Regions from separate parts of the Homo sapiens genome. Here all the other regions are linked to region 3. The links are contacts of gene promoters, found by promoter capture Hi-C in blood cells and fetal thymus (Javierre and others, 2016). All regions are on one chromosome and are shown on one strand. The core of a region is centred on a gene start or on the middle of the fragment in contact, and the rest is flanking DNA. Distances in the headings are between cores, read along the strand shown.

What was found. Contacts are between HindIII fragments. The CHiCAGO score rates a contact against its expected background, and 5 or more counts as called.
Region 1: the fragment with the promoter of NKX2-2 here is called in contact with the fragment with the promoter of XRN2 in region 3 in 5 of 17 cell types (naive CD4 T cells, megakaryocytes, activated CD4 T cells and 2 more); the score reaches 7.0 in naive CD4 T cells.
Region 2: a contact is called between a fragment that was not itself captured here and the fragment with the promoter of XRN2 in region 3, in 2 of 17 cell types (naive CD4 T cells and activated CD4 T cells). The highest score is 6.9, in naive CD4 T cells.
Region 4: a contact is called between a fragment that was not itself captured here and the fragment with the promoter of XRN2 in region 3, in 1 of 17 cell types (naive CD8 T cells). The highest score is 5.8, in naive CD8 T cells.

Annotation. Positions count from the first base shown.
Region 1 is chr20:21,512,698-21,515,718 of GRCh38, forward strand. NKX2-2 (NK2 homeobox 2) reads right to left here and starts at 1,367. Exons shown (of 2, transcript NM_002509.4): 1 at 714-1,367. The coding sequence starts at 972. The HindIII fragment of the contact is 7,883 bases long and covers 1-3,021 here.
Region 2 is chr20:21,537,829-21,540,725 of GRCh38, forward strand. No RefSeq gene overlaps it. Among named protein-coding and RNA genes, the nearest start is that of BETALINC1, 9.2 kb to the left of the region's middle. The HindIII fragment of the contact is 2,586 bases long and covers 182-2,767 here.
Region 3 is chr20:21,301,525-21,304,580 of GRCh38, forward strand. It overlaps XRN2 (5'-3' exoribonuclease 2), which reads left to right and starts at 1,807. Exons shown (of 30, transcript NM_012255.5): 1 at 1,807-1,949. The coding sequence starts at 1,875. RefSeq lists a silencer at 1,505-1,634 and an enhancer at 2,355-2,404. The HindIII fragment of the contact is 6,284 bases long and covers 1-3,056 here.
Region 4 is chr20:21,496,411-21,499,597 of GRCh38, forward strand. LOC112268271 (translation initiation factor IF-2) reads right to left here. Exons shown (of 6, transcript NR_171654.1): 6 at 2,855-3,187. Among named protein-coding and RNA genes, the nearest start is that of NKX2-2, 16 kb to the right of the region's middle. The HindIII fragment of the contact is 5,766 bases long and covers 1-3,187 here.

The DNA of each region.
Region 1 (3,021 bases), core at 117-2,616, 210 kb after region 3:
GGCTAGGGGCTCGCCTTTCAAGGGGCTCACATAGTGTGGGTGAGAATTTGGGGGGGGAAGTGGCACTGAAGATCATCGCGGGTTAAGGGCTCCGGCGCCCTTAAGCGGTTTCCTCTCCGGCGAGACGTGGGCAGATTTTTAAAAGAAATACCCCACAATCCCAGCATTGATCGGCTCGGCCATTTAAGGCAGGTTTTTGGGGGCTTTCGTTTCTGCTTTCGGGCCTTCTAGACACCCCCTGCACTGCACAAAGCGTCCTCTATGATCGCGCAGGGGGCAGGGTGAGCTATTTATACCCGGGCCACCCGAAGCCTCCCCACCCTCCACCCGTACCCGGACGAGGCTCGCTGGCTACCTCCAGGGCGCCAGGCCAGTCCCTCCCAGCGGCCGGAGTCCGGGGGCTGCGGCTGGAGCCATCGGTCCGGGTTGACATCATATACCAGCCCCTGGGAGGTATAGCCCTTCTCCCTCTTTCTCCTTAACTTCTCGCATTGAAAAAAATTTTGGAGACCAAGTTCTTTCCCGGAACTAAGGAGGCTTGAAGAGGAGGGCAGAGGACATCCTATACAGGTGTTAAAAATCTTTCTACGGATCCGAGTGAGGGGGTCCGGGCTTACATGGCCCCTTCCCCTTTCACTCCCAGCGTCCAACCCGGGCTGCGGCTGCAGGAATGGAGGGGACCACGGCCTCGGCAGCCAAGTTTTGCTACTTACGGGAGTACTGAAGGCCCTCGGTGCTGGCCAGCCAGCGCGTGTACGGGTTGTCGCTGCTGTCGTAGAAGGGGTTCTTCAGGGGCAGGCTCTGCACCGCGTCCAGGGCGCCCTGCCCCAGCGGCCCGGCCCTCTTGGCTGGCTCGGGCCCCTCGTTCTCTTCCTCCGGACCTTCGGCCACAGAGCCCTCCTCATCGTTGGTGTCCGGCAGGTCTAAGATGTCCTTGACCGAAAACCCCGTCTTTGTGTTGGTCAGCGACATGGTTCGAGACCCCAAAATTTATGTCGCAAAGTTGTAGCTTCACTTGGTCAATTCGTGGCGCTCCCCTGCCCCGGCGGGCGGGGGAGGGGGGAGTTGGGGGGAGGGACTGGGGGAGGGGAGGGGGGAATTGGCTTTAATTATTGGGATAATTATTATTTTTAAAAAGAGAAAGAAACTGGGGATGGGGAGGAAAAAAATGAAGCCCAACCCAGTGCCTCTCTCTGTCTTCTTTGAAAGCACGCGGAAATGGACGCAGGAAGCCGGGCGGCCTGCGCGCCGAGCGCCGCGGGCCCCGGCCTTAGTTTCTAACTCCAGGAGGGGTGCCAAGGCGGCGTCAGCTCGGGCTCCGGCGGCCGCTCGGCGCGCGGTGGCGGCTGGTGGCGAGGAAAAAATGGGCCATTGCCCGAGCGATCAGTCCATATAAGGCTGGGCTCCACTCACGAACCTGGGGAGGCGGGGAGAGGGGGAGAAAGAGAGGGAGGGAGGGAAAGAAAGAGGGAGGGAGGGGGAGCGAGAGAGGGAGCGGGAGAAGGGTGGAAAAAAGGGGGAAGAGACATTAAAAACGCAAAGGTTGGCCACGTGTGGGCGGGTCTTGGGAGTCAAGTGGATGAAGACAGTATTTGCAGATGTGAAATTGTGGGTTTTGGGGAGCTCCGCGCTCCCAGCCAACGGCCCTCTAGAGCAAGATGAGAGGTGTAACGTGTCAATTAATTGCAAAGACGGGGCGAGCCTTTTTTTTTTTAAACCCAGTATTTACATACAAAGGGCCACCGCGTCGCTCGCGAGTCCACACACTTGAAAGGGCCGTTTTAACAAATTGCATCTTAAAAAAGGTGGGGGTGGGGAGGAGGAGGGGAGAAAACAAAACAGAAACCAGGAGGAGGGAAAAAATCCTCTTTAACATTCACCGGTTCCTACCTCCCCGCCCCCGCGCGCCCACCCCCGGCAAGCCGGAAAATTGGCGATTTGTGGCGCCTTTGGAAAAGGGGGAGGGGGCGAAGGCCGAGCTGCGGAAATCTCTCCTTTCCATCGTTGGTGGTTGCCTAAACAAGATCCGGTTCAAATGGCAAGAGCCCAACTTCTGTAAGCCTCCTAGGTCAATATTTTGGTTGAGGCTTAAGGATGAGTGCTAGAAATGACAAGGCAAGTAATTGATTCCAGTTAACCGCGAGAGAGCCCAAAACCCAGGAGAGAGCTCCGCTCCGGGCCGGCCAGAGCCACCACCAAGCGACCCGCCCCCTTCCAGCCGCCCTTTATTTGCTAAAGACTCATTTATTTCCTTCACTCCGCCTCCCCCCACCTCCCACCCCCAACCCCCCGCCTCCACCTCTCTGCGGCCAAGGAGGACGCGCAGTTCACTTTCTGCTTTGCGGGCGGTCCCGGGGAGGGCGGGGTAAGAGTGAGGAGCTCCAACTTCGTCTGGGGTCGGACCCTGGCCCTGCTGCCTCTGGGCTCTGCGGGCCTCTTTCCCCGGGTGGAGGAAAGGGCAGACGGCCCTGCTCTTTCCTGCCCTCTATTATCCCTCCCTCTCCGGCCCCCTCCCTCTCCAGCCTCTGGCTAGAGGTGGAGCAGCGGGAAGGCGGCGGGGCGGGATTGCGGGGGTGGGGGTGGGGGTTGTGTCTCCAGCCTGGGTGAAGACCCAGAAAGCTGCGGGGGAGGGGGGTCGCTGGGTGGCCCGACGATGCCTCGTTTTCTCCCCAGTTTTCTTCTCCCACGCGAGTTCTTTAGTGTGGTCTCTTTTTGGACGCCTTGGGTGCGTTCGGAGTACGCGCTCCACGTTTCCAGGTTAAGTCAGGTTAGTGTGAAGTTTCCAGCCACTCTCGGCTCTGGGAACTGAACTTTCCCGGGACTTGCACTTCCTCCTCGGCGCTGGGGTTGGAAAAGACCACGCCGCATTTGCCACCCCTTCTTCTAGTTAAAACTTTTTTGGGGGGGGGGTGCAGGGGTGTAGATTGGCTACCTGATGCTCGTTCGCCCCAGAGGAGTGTCAGGAAGGAGCTTTGTCTGGGGGCGGGGAGGGGCACAGAAGGCCACCCCTGCGGGGTCCAG
Region 2 (2,897 bases), core at 225-2,724, 240 kb after region 3:
CACAGCAACCTGGACCTCCTGAGCTTAAGTGACCTCCCACCCCAGCCTCCTGAGTAGCTGGGACCACAGGTACACACCACCATGCCTGGCCAAATTCACTATTTCTAATTCCCTTTTTTAATGGTGGGAAACCTGGCTCTGATTATTTATTCATTTGCTCAATCCCACATAATATAGAAAAAGCTTCAGTGTTGCAAACACATACCGTTGAGATAAACAAACATTCTAATTGAAGTTCAATATCTATTTAGTTCTTTTTGGTTTTAAACTGAGGAGAAATAGAGTACTGCATTCAAAATTACTTGGAATAGGTTTTTTTAATTAATTAAACATTTTTTTCTTTTCTCCAGTATGGATATGTTACTCATCTGAAGTAATATTAGATTCATTTGTTTCTGTTTGGTTTATCCTATTTTAATTTTCTTTTCTTTTTTTTTTGAAACAGAGTCTTGCTCTGTCGCCCAGGCTGGAGTGCAGTGGCGCAATCTCGGCTCACTGCAAGCTCCGCCTCCCAGGTTCACGCCATTCTTCTGCCTCAGCCTCCGGAGTAGCTGGGACTACAGGCACCCGTCACCACGCCCGGCTAATTTTTTGTATTTTTAGTAGAGACGGGGTTTCACCGTGTTAGCCGGGATGGTCTCGATCTCCTGACCTCGTGATCTGCCCGCCTCAGCTTCCCAAAGTGCCGGGATTACAGGCGTGAGCCACCGCGACTGGCTTAATTTTCTTTTTTATCCTTTTTTAATTACCCATTTTATTCTTTTTTTTTTTTCTTAAGAGATGGGGTCTTGCTATGTTGCTCAGGCTGTTCTCAAACTCCTGGCCTCAAGTGATCCTCCCACCTCAACCTCCCAAAGTCTAGAATTACAGGCATGAGCCACGGCACTCAGCCTTTTTTTTTCCTTACTGAGCAGGAAATATCTCAATAAGAGTTTATCTTCAGAAGTCCTTTTTGCCCCAGAAACTGAGTTTTAGATGCAGGGATCCTCTTGATCTTAAATGGCGTCCTCTAGGGAAAATGTGGTGGTTCTCAGCTGCTTCAGCGCAAGCTCTCCAAGCCCGTCTACTCAGCATGAAAATCTAGGAGGGGTGAGCTGAAGAACTGTCCTCATCTCCAGCAAAGTCCTTATAGTGGAAGGACGCATCCTTGAATGGATGACATCTCCTTACCAAACACAGTGCCCCAGTGCATATACATGGATGTAGCATCAAAGTACAGACAGCAAGCAAAAAACACGAAGAGAAATGTGCACAACACAAGTCTGCCAAATCTCTCTCAATCATACAGGTTAAGGGGAACAAAAAAATAAGTATCCTGGATTGGAATATGGATTGAAAAAATATTGCTTTGGAGGAGAATATTGGGAAAACTGGTGAAATGTGAATAAAGATAATATTAAATATATTTGATATTATATAATGGCATTGTATCAGTATTCAATTTCCTGAATTAAATATTTGCTCTTTGGTTTACAGAGATGGTTCTTGTTCTTAGGAGACACATGGTAGAGAATCTGGGGGTGAAGGGTCATTATATCTGCAACTTACTCTCAAATGGTTCACACACACACACAGACATATACACATCCACACACATCTACATATACACATACACACATTCACATACATATATATACACACAATCCACATATCCACACATAGACATCCACACACGTGCACATCCACATACACATATTCACATCCACACACACACACACCTCCACATATACACCTCTACATATACACACATCCACATATACACATATACACATTCACATACATCTACATATATGCATACACACATTCACATACATATACACATACGTGCACACAGCACATATCCACATCCACACGTGTACACATCCACATATTCACATACATACATACACACATCCATCCACACACATCCACATACATGCATTCACATACATATATGTATGCAGGCATCCACATGTGTACATATACACACCCATACATTCACATCCATATACATCCACATATACTCATCTGCATATACACATGTACACAATACACATATCCATACATACACATTCACATACATACATGCGCACATACATGTATACACATACACACCTGTACACACATACAAATGGCAAAGTGTGAGTAGCTGGTGAAGCATATATGGCGGTTCATTGACATTATTCTTATAATTTTCCTGTAGTTTTGAATTTCTTCAAAATAAAAAGTAAAAATATTGATAAGTAATAAGACAGATCAATTTTACATATGACAGACCAGCCACATCATGCATCTATGTTGAAATCTCTACACTTTTATTCAGACACCCATGTCAGAGTCACAAAAAAGGGACCACATTTTAAGCTACAACAAAACTTCCATAAATTTCAGAAAGAAAGTAAACAGTTTCATTATTAAACAAGAAATAATGAAAATAAAGGGTATTCTATTCAAGAAGTTAAGAAAACGATCAACAAAACATCTAAATAAAGCAGAAGGGTGGGATTAAAGTAGATAAAAAATCAGAAATAAGTGTATTTGTAAACAGAAAAACAATCATGCTAAAGAAAAAACCCAAGCACTGGTTCTTTGAAATAATCAGTGATGTAGATAAACTATCAGTGGTTTAATTTAAAAACACATTGTTATGGAGAGTTGTGCAAAACCCACTCATGTAGTTCAATCTATTAATAAAGCAATGAAGAAAAATTATACTGGAATCTCAAGAGTTGCTCAAAGTCACTTAATAAATTGTAATGCTCGATATGCGGGGGGCCCTTCAGGCCTAAGCTTCATTAGCTGTATGCAAAATCCACCGAACTTTGCCTCTGGATCCCAGGGTCCTGCGGGGACAATTCAAGTGTCTGCCTAGCATAGAGTTATGCTTGCCTTAGCCGAGGGATGTGCAGGAGAGAGTG
Region 3 (3,056 bases), core at 557-3,056:
AATTAACCCTGCTTCTCTCATTGCCTACTGGCAACAAGTCCCAATTCTTATCTTTTAGCGTTCACGCACTGGAAAGATGCAGTCTTAAATTTCTTATGGTTCAAAGCTCAAAAATGCTGGTAAGGCTGGGTGCAGTGGCTCACACCTGTAATCCCAGCACTCTGGAAGGCCGAGGTGGGCAGATCACCTGAGGTTAGGAGTTCGAGACCAGCCTGGCCAACATGGTGAAACCCTGTCTCAACTAAAAACACAAAAATCAGCGGGGTGTCATGGCAGGCGCCTCTAATCCCAGCTACTCGGGAGGCTGAGGCAGGAGAATCGCTTGAACCCGGGAGGTGGAGGTTGCAGTGAGCCTGGATCTTGCCACTGCACTCCAGCCTGGATGACTGAGACTCCGTCTGAAAAAACAAAAACAAAACAATAAACCCTCCCAACCCGCCAAAATGCTGGTTAAGGATTCTAAATGGCTCAACTTGGCCAGCTGTCTATCCCTGAACTGCCTATGGTGTACATGTTCCTATAACAGCACCTCCCAGGGAAACCAGAGGGGCTGCTTCCAGGTAAAAGGAGGAATTTCACCATAGACATAATACTTTGGAATAGTTTTGGCTATCCTTAAGTAAAACACGGGATGACTATTTCTCTAATTTCCACACTAGTAGTTTAAACAAAGTAGTCATCAGACCACAGAGGAGGGGGCAATAAATACTGCCTGTGAGGTAACTCGGCGAAATACTTTCACAGAGGCCTCATGAGGTGAGCATTTAGCATCGTGTGTGATGTGTGTCAAACCAAGAGGGGATTCAGGGAGACTTCCAGGCTTGAGCAAACGGACAAATATACCTCCTCTTCCAGACCTCTCCTTTCATATGGAAAAAATTCGTTTGGGACCACCAGAAAACAAAAGATAAAAGTATCGTGTTAGAACAAGGATGGATTAAAAATGACCTTTGCTTGAACTGAAACAGAAGCTATGTGCATAAGTGACTTAACTCCTCTGTAACTTGGCTTTCTTATCATTTACACGAGGGTGCTAACAGTACCCTCACAAGGTTCAAGTGAAGATTACATAGGACAATCCCTTAGTCAATGTCTTGGTACACTGTAAAGGCTCAGTAAATGCTGGAAAATCATATTAGCAACTATTTTATACCCGTAATTGTAGCTGGAAGATTGTATTGGATGCTAAATACCGGCTAGATTCCATTCGGTAACTATCATAATTATTTATTTGCATAACAATCAAATTATTGGTGCAAAGCAGCCATTATTACTGTAAAATGCTTTAAAATGCTCCTTTTGATAGTCCAGGTACGTACTGCAGCACAAAACTAGGAGAAACCAGGAAATGGAAGTAACGAGTAAGTTTGGATGCTTCGATTCTACCCTAGATTGAGACGGGTGAGCATAGAGGCAAAAAAAGACATTTTCTTCCAAACAAGAGGTGACCAAACGGGCAAGGGAGACCTCCTCCCGGGCATGCAGAGCGCAGCGATTCTGTGCCCAGGGAGCCGGAGGGCTGGGGCTGGGAGATCCCGGCGGAGCCCCGGCAGAGCAGTCGCCCGTGAGCCCCCGCAACTCAGACGCGCTCGGCCTCGCGCTCCGGGGCTGGGACCACCGAGGGCGAGCTGCAGCCTTCGCCACCCGGTCCGCCGCCGGACTCCGCCTCCCACAAACAGCCCGGCAAGGCCCTTTTCCGCCGCTCCCTCATCCAGCGAAGCCTCCTTCCCAGCTTCCCCGGCGGCGGCGCCGTGACGTCACTTCCGTTCTCCAGCGCGCACGTGGGAGGAAGTGCTGGTGCCCTCTGCCGCTGCTCCCGTCTCTTTGGTTACGCTCGTCAGCCGGTCGGCCGCCGCCTCCAGCCGTGTGCCGCTATGGGAGTCCCGGCGTTCTTCCGCTGGCTCAGCCGCAAGTACCCGTCCATCATAGTCAACTGCGTGGAAGAGAAGGTGAGGAGGCGCCAGGCGGCCGCCACACTCGAGCCCGGGCCCCCGGCACGTCTAGGCCGCGGCCCATGGGCTCCGCCGCCTGCCCCCGGGGAGCCTTGCCGGAGCTCGCGCCCTGCTGCCAGCCTCGCGAGCAGTCGCAGCCCCACACGCGATGGGACGCGGGCTGTGGGATTCAGCACCCCGGGGGCGAGGAATTCAGGACCCTCGGCGGGGCAAGGGCCTATAGGGTTCCGAACTCGCAGGAGGGTCGCTCCTCCCCTACTCGCTTTTTCCCGGCACCGGAAGGCCCCGCCCACTGCTTTGTTTCCTCTCCAGACCGCGCATTTTGGGTCTCGGAAGAGGTTCAGAGGCTGTTGTTGAGCAATGCATGCCAGGTCAGCTGAGCTAGCGGGTTATGGATGCACGGATTCGGAGGCCAGCTTTTTGACAACCTTGTAAAGGAATCCCTGGCGGCGACCTTTTCGTTGTTTACCAATTGTGCCGGAAAGGTTTTCTCCTAGTGTTCAGGACCATTTGTTGTTCTGGTTAGATTGGACGCTGAAAGCAGTATGTCAGGTCCAGGATGAGCGCTATAGAATTCTGAGAAGTTACCCTTCTCTGTGTGCCCTGACTACTGAACGGGGTGGGTGCTTGTTGAAAATTTCAAGATTACTGGATGTACTTGAGCAGTACAATTTTTGTTGTTAGTTAATACGTAAGTAGATTTTTGGCCATTATTGAGTTTTGTTTTTATTGTTTTCGTCATTCCATGCGGATTCGATTTTGTGCTCTTAATTAGAATTTCTGGATTGGAAACGTTCAGAGGCACATCACGCGTACCTCACTCCTTAGTTTTTGAAGGCAGTGCTTGCCTGTCACTGTGAACTTATTTCTGCTTTTTTTTTTTTTTTTAACTTTCTTGGCTTCTATCCAAGGAGGAACCAAAAGCCTTGTCTTAGTGACATTCCCACTATTTCTTGTTTTTTTCAAAAAGCAACTGCTAAATTGAATACTTGTTTCCTTTGTAAAATTTTAATCGAACTTTATTGAACTTTACTTGCACGTGGGTTAAACAAAAAGCAACAGTTCTTGCTCTACCCCTTCTCATCCCATTTCTCCACCTTTAAC
Region 4 (3,187 bases), core at 156-2,655, 190 kb after region 3:
CTTCTGACCTTAGGTGATCCACCCGCCTCGGCCTCCCAGAGTGCTGCGATTTACAGACGTGAGCCACTGCGCCCAGCTGGCTGGGACTTTAAACCATTACTTCACATTCAAATAATCATAATGGTAGTAATAGGAAGATAATGAGGGAGATGACTTTGTACTAAACACCCACAACAGACAGGTGCTGTACTCAGTGCTTTGCAGCCCAGTGCTTTGCCTGGACTTGTTGGGAGAATGGGCAGGGGAAGAAGTGAATCAGCACTCTGAATGCAGACATCCTTGAAATATTTTGTCAGCTTGTGAGCCTGAAGATAAGGCTGTACTGCTAATGTATCAGGAAAGACCAAGAGGGCAGCCAGTGGAGAGGGAGAAGGGGCACTGTTTTGCTTTGAGTAAGCTGGGGACCACTTCCTCGTGTTGGGGGGAAAACAATGATACGCAGTAAAAGAAGAAAAAAGGGCCAGTCTCCTTAAATTTCACCGAAATAGTGCAAACTACAATTTTTCAAGAATATAATCAATTATTGGGCGGTCCTTAGTGAGTCTGGAATTATTAAGAATAAATAACCCTTTTTTTTTTTTTTTTTTTTTTTTTTTTTTTTTTTTTTTTTTTTTTTTTGAGAGGGAGTCTTGCTCTGTCACCCAGGCTGGAATGCAGTGGCATGATCTCGGCACATTGCAACCTCCATCTCCCGGGTTCAAGCAATTCTCCTGCCTCAGCCTCCCGAGTAGCTGGGATTACAGACATGAGCCGCCACATCTGGCTAATTTTTGTATTTTTAGTAGAGACAGGGCTTCACTATGTTGGTCAGGCTGGTCTGGAACTCCTGACCTCAGGAGATCCGCCTGCCTCGGCCTCCCAAAATGCTGGGATTACAGGCATGAGACACTGTGCCTGGCCAAGTAATCCAATTTTTAAAAGATGGGTAGGTTTTAGTTAGTAATGTCCTTTATTTTCTGAAGTCTGGTATAAAAGGCAGGAATTTTTGTTCATATTAAAAAGTCATCTGGAATAGTTTCAGAATTTTATGTCTCAAATTACTGCCTTTTATTTTTGTGATTAATTGTGTTTGAAAAGATACATATTTTTAGCTATTCTTGTTATTATTGCTGGAATTATGCATGTAGAAATATACATTCAAACAATGTAGGAGGCACAAAATGGGCAGTTTAAATCGCCTCGACCTACTCCGCAGAGACTGCTTTTAATTCTGGTGGTTATTCACACTGCATTTAAATTGTTTATTTAACTCAGAAAGGACACATAGTTTTAATGCTTATTAAGAGTTTCATTGTGTACAAAATGGTATAGCATATTGTGTCAATTTTATGAAGAGGCAATGGCCCATAATACGTTTTAGACACAGACTTTATTGAAATTTTCAGCAGAAAGCTCTAAAATGTCGATATTAAATGTAAAAGTATGTTTTTAGTACATGCCACAACCATGAACAGCTTCATTCTATTACTAAACGGTCATTAAAATATTCATCCAAATTCTATTTGAATAACTTTCATGTCTTGTAAAATCTGAAGAACATTTTAAATTGATGGGGTATTAGAATGTTGAAAGAAATACATTTGCTTTTAAGACCAGCCTTATCAGAATTCGTGAAGGCTATATTGTGGCATAAATGTATATATTATAAATGTTGGGGAAACAAAAAGAAAAAATCATATAAGAGTGGATAACTTCCTGTTGAATATAATATTACCAGTTTTTTTTTTTGGGGATTTTTATTAAAGCATTCAGTATTGTCTTCTCGTACTTTTCAGCCACATAGTTGAACTCAAATCAGAACATGATCCTCCAACTTTATATTCATTAACAGTAAGGATTCAGACAAGTGTGGATTGCCTTGTTTATGTTGTGGCCTCTGCATGTGAACCCTCTGGGTTACTGCTGCAACACGGATTTTCATCCGCCTCCTCATTTGATTAATTAACCCAGCTTCGGTCATTGTTTCAGCAGCCCCTGCACAGGCAGCCTCTCCGCCCTGGCCCACCAAGTCTCCACTAGAACCTCTTTCATTTCACCCAGGGAGTCTGGGGAAGGCGCTGGACAGCGGTGTTCATAATTCCTTTGTCTAATTGCATAGGATCAGGGTGATAAAGTTTAAAAGGGTGTTTGCATCAAGAGTGGTTATTTCAATTTGCCCTGTTAAATTTTCACCTTTTGCTGATAGATAGCATGCCTAATTTTATGAAATGCCATTATGTTCACAGAAAGGAGATGGGAGTGGGGAAGGGTTAACATAAGAGCAAATGCTGCAGCACATCTCAGCCCCTCACCCAGCCTACATGTCCATTAAGACCAAAATTCTACCTCAGGGCAGAGCTGCCCTTCAATACTGTTCCTTCTGTTGTCTCACCGTGTTGTAGCCCATGGTGACCGCAGGGGCTCTGACACAGAGAGCAGTCCTCTGCCTTCCATGGCACCCTCCCAGGGGAGGGGGAAGTCCTGGCTGGTCCTTTCCTTTCCTTGACTCACCCGGGGTTGGCACAAAGGGCAGCTGGTGGGGGAGGGGCAGAGGTGCCGGAGCAAAGGGACTCTGTCACCCTTTGCAGGATAAGAGTCCTTAATCTGCAGTCCCTCATCCCCAAGGGGTAGAATTACCTCTTAATCTAATTTACTTTATAACCTAAACTCATTCTTCTGAGAAGGGTTCTATAGGAGTCTTCAGCCTGGCAAAGGGGCCTGTGGGACACAAAGTGTTAAGAACCTCTGGAAGGTGGCACCATTCTTCCCTCCAGCTGAGCAGTAATGGCCATTTCTTACTGCTCAGCCACTCTCTTTGCTTCCCCCCACCCCAATTCCAGCCAGATACATAGTAAGGAATCAATCAAGACTCACATTTTTAAAATCTCTTTATTATTTGTGGAATTTTACACAGCCTGAGGCATTTTTGATAGAGGGCATAGAGTGTGTGAAGAGATAAATCTACATTGCCACTCCCAGCCCATTCTGTAACCCCTGCCACTGCGGCTGTTCATTTCAGAGTGGGCTGAGGTTCCACAGAGCAGCTGAAGAGCTGTGAATGGTGGTTAATTGCAGTGATGTTAATTAGCATGTTATAGGAGGTAAGAAGAGGGGATTCACATTTCTCTTTTTACTGCTTCAAACAAATGATCTAGATCTTTGCTACATAAGCCACTGGCCACATGTGGCTATTTAAATGGAAATTAAT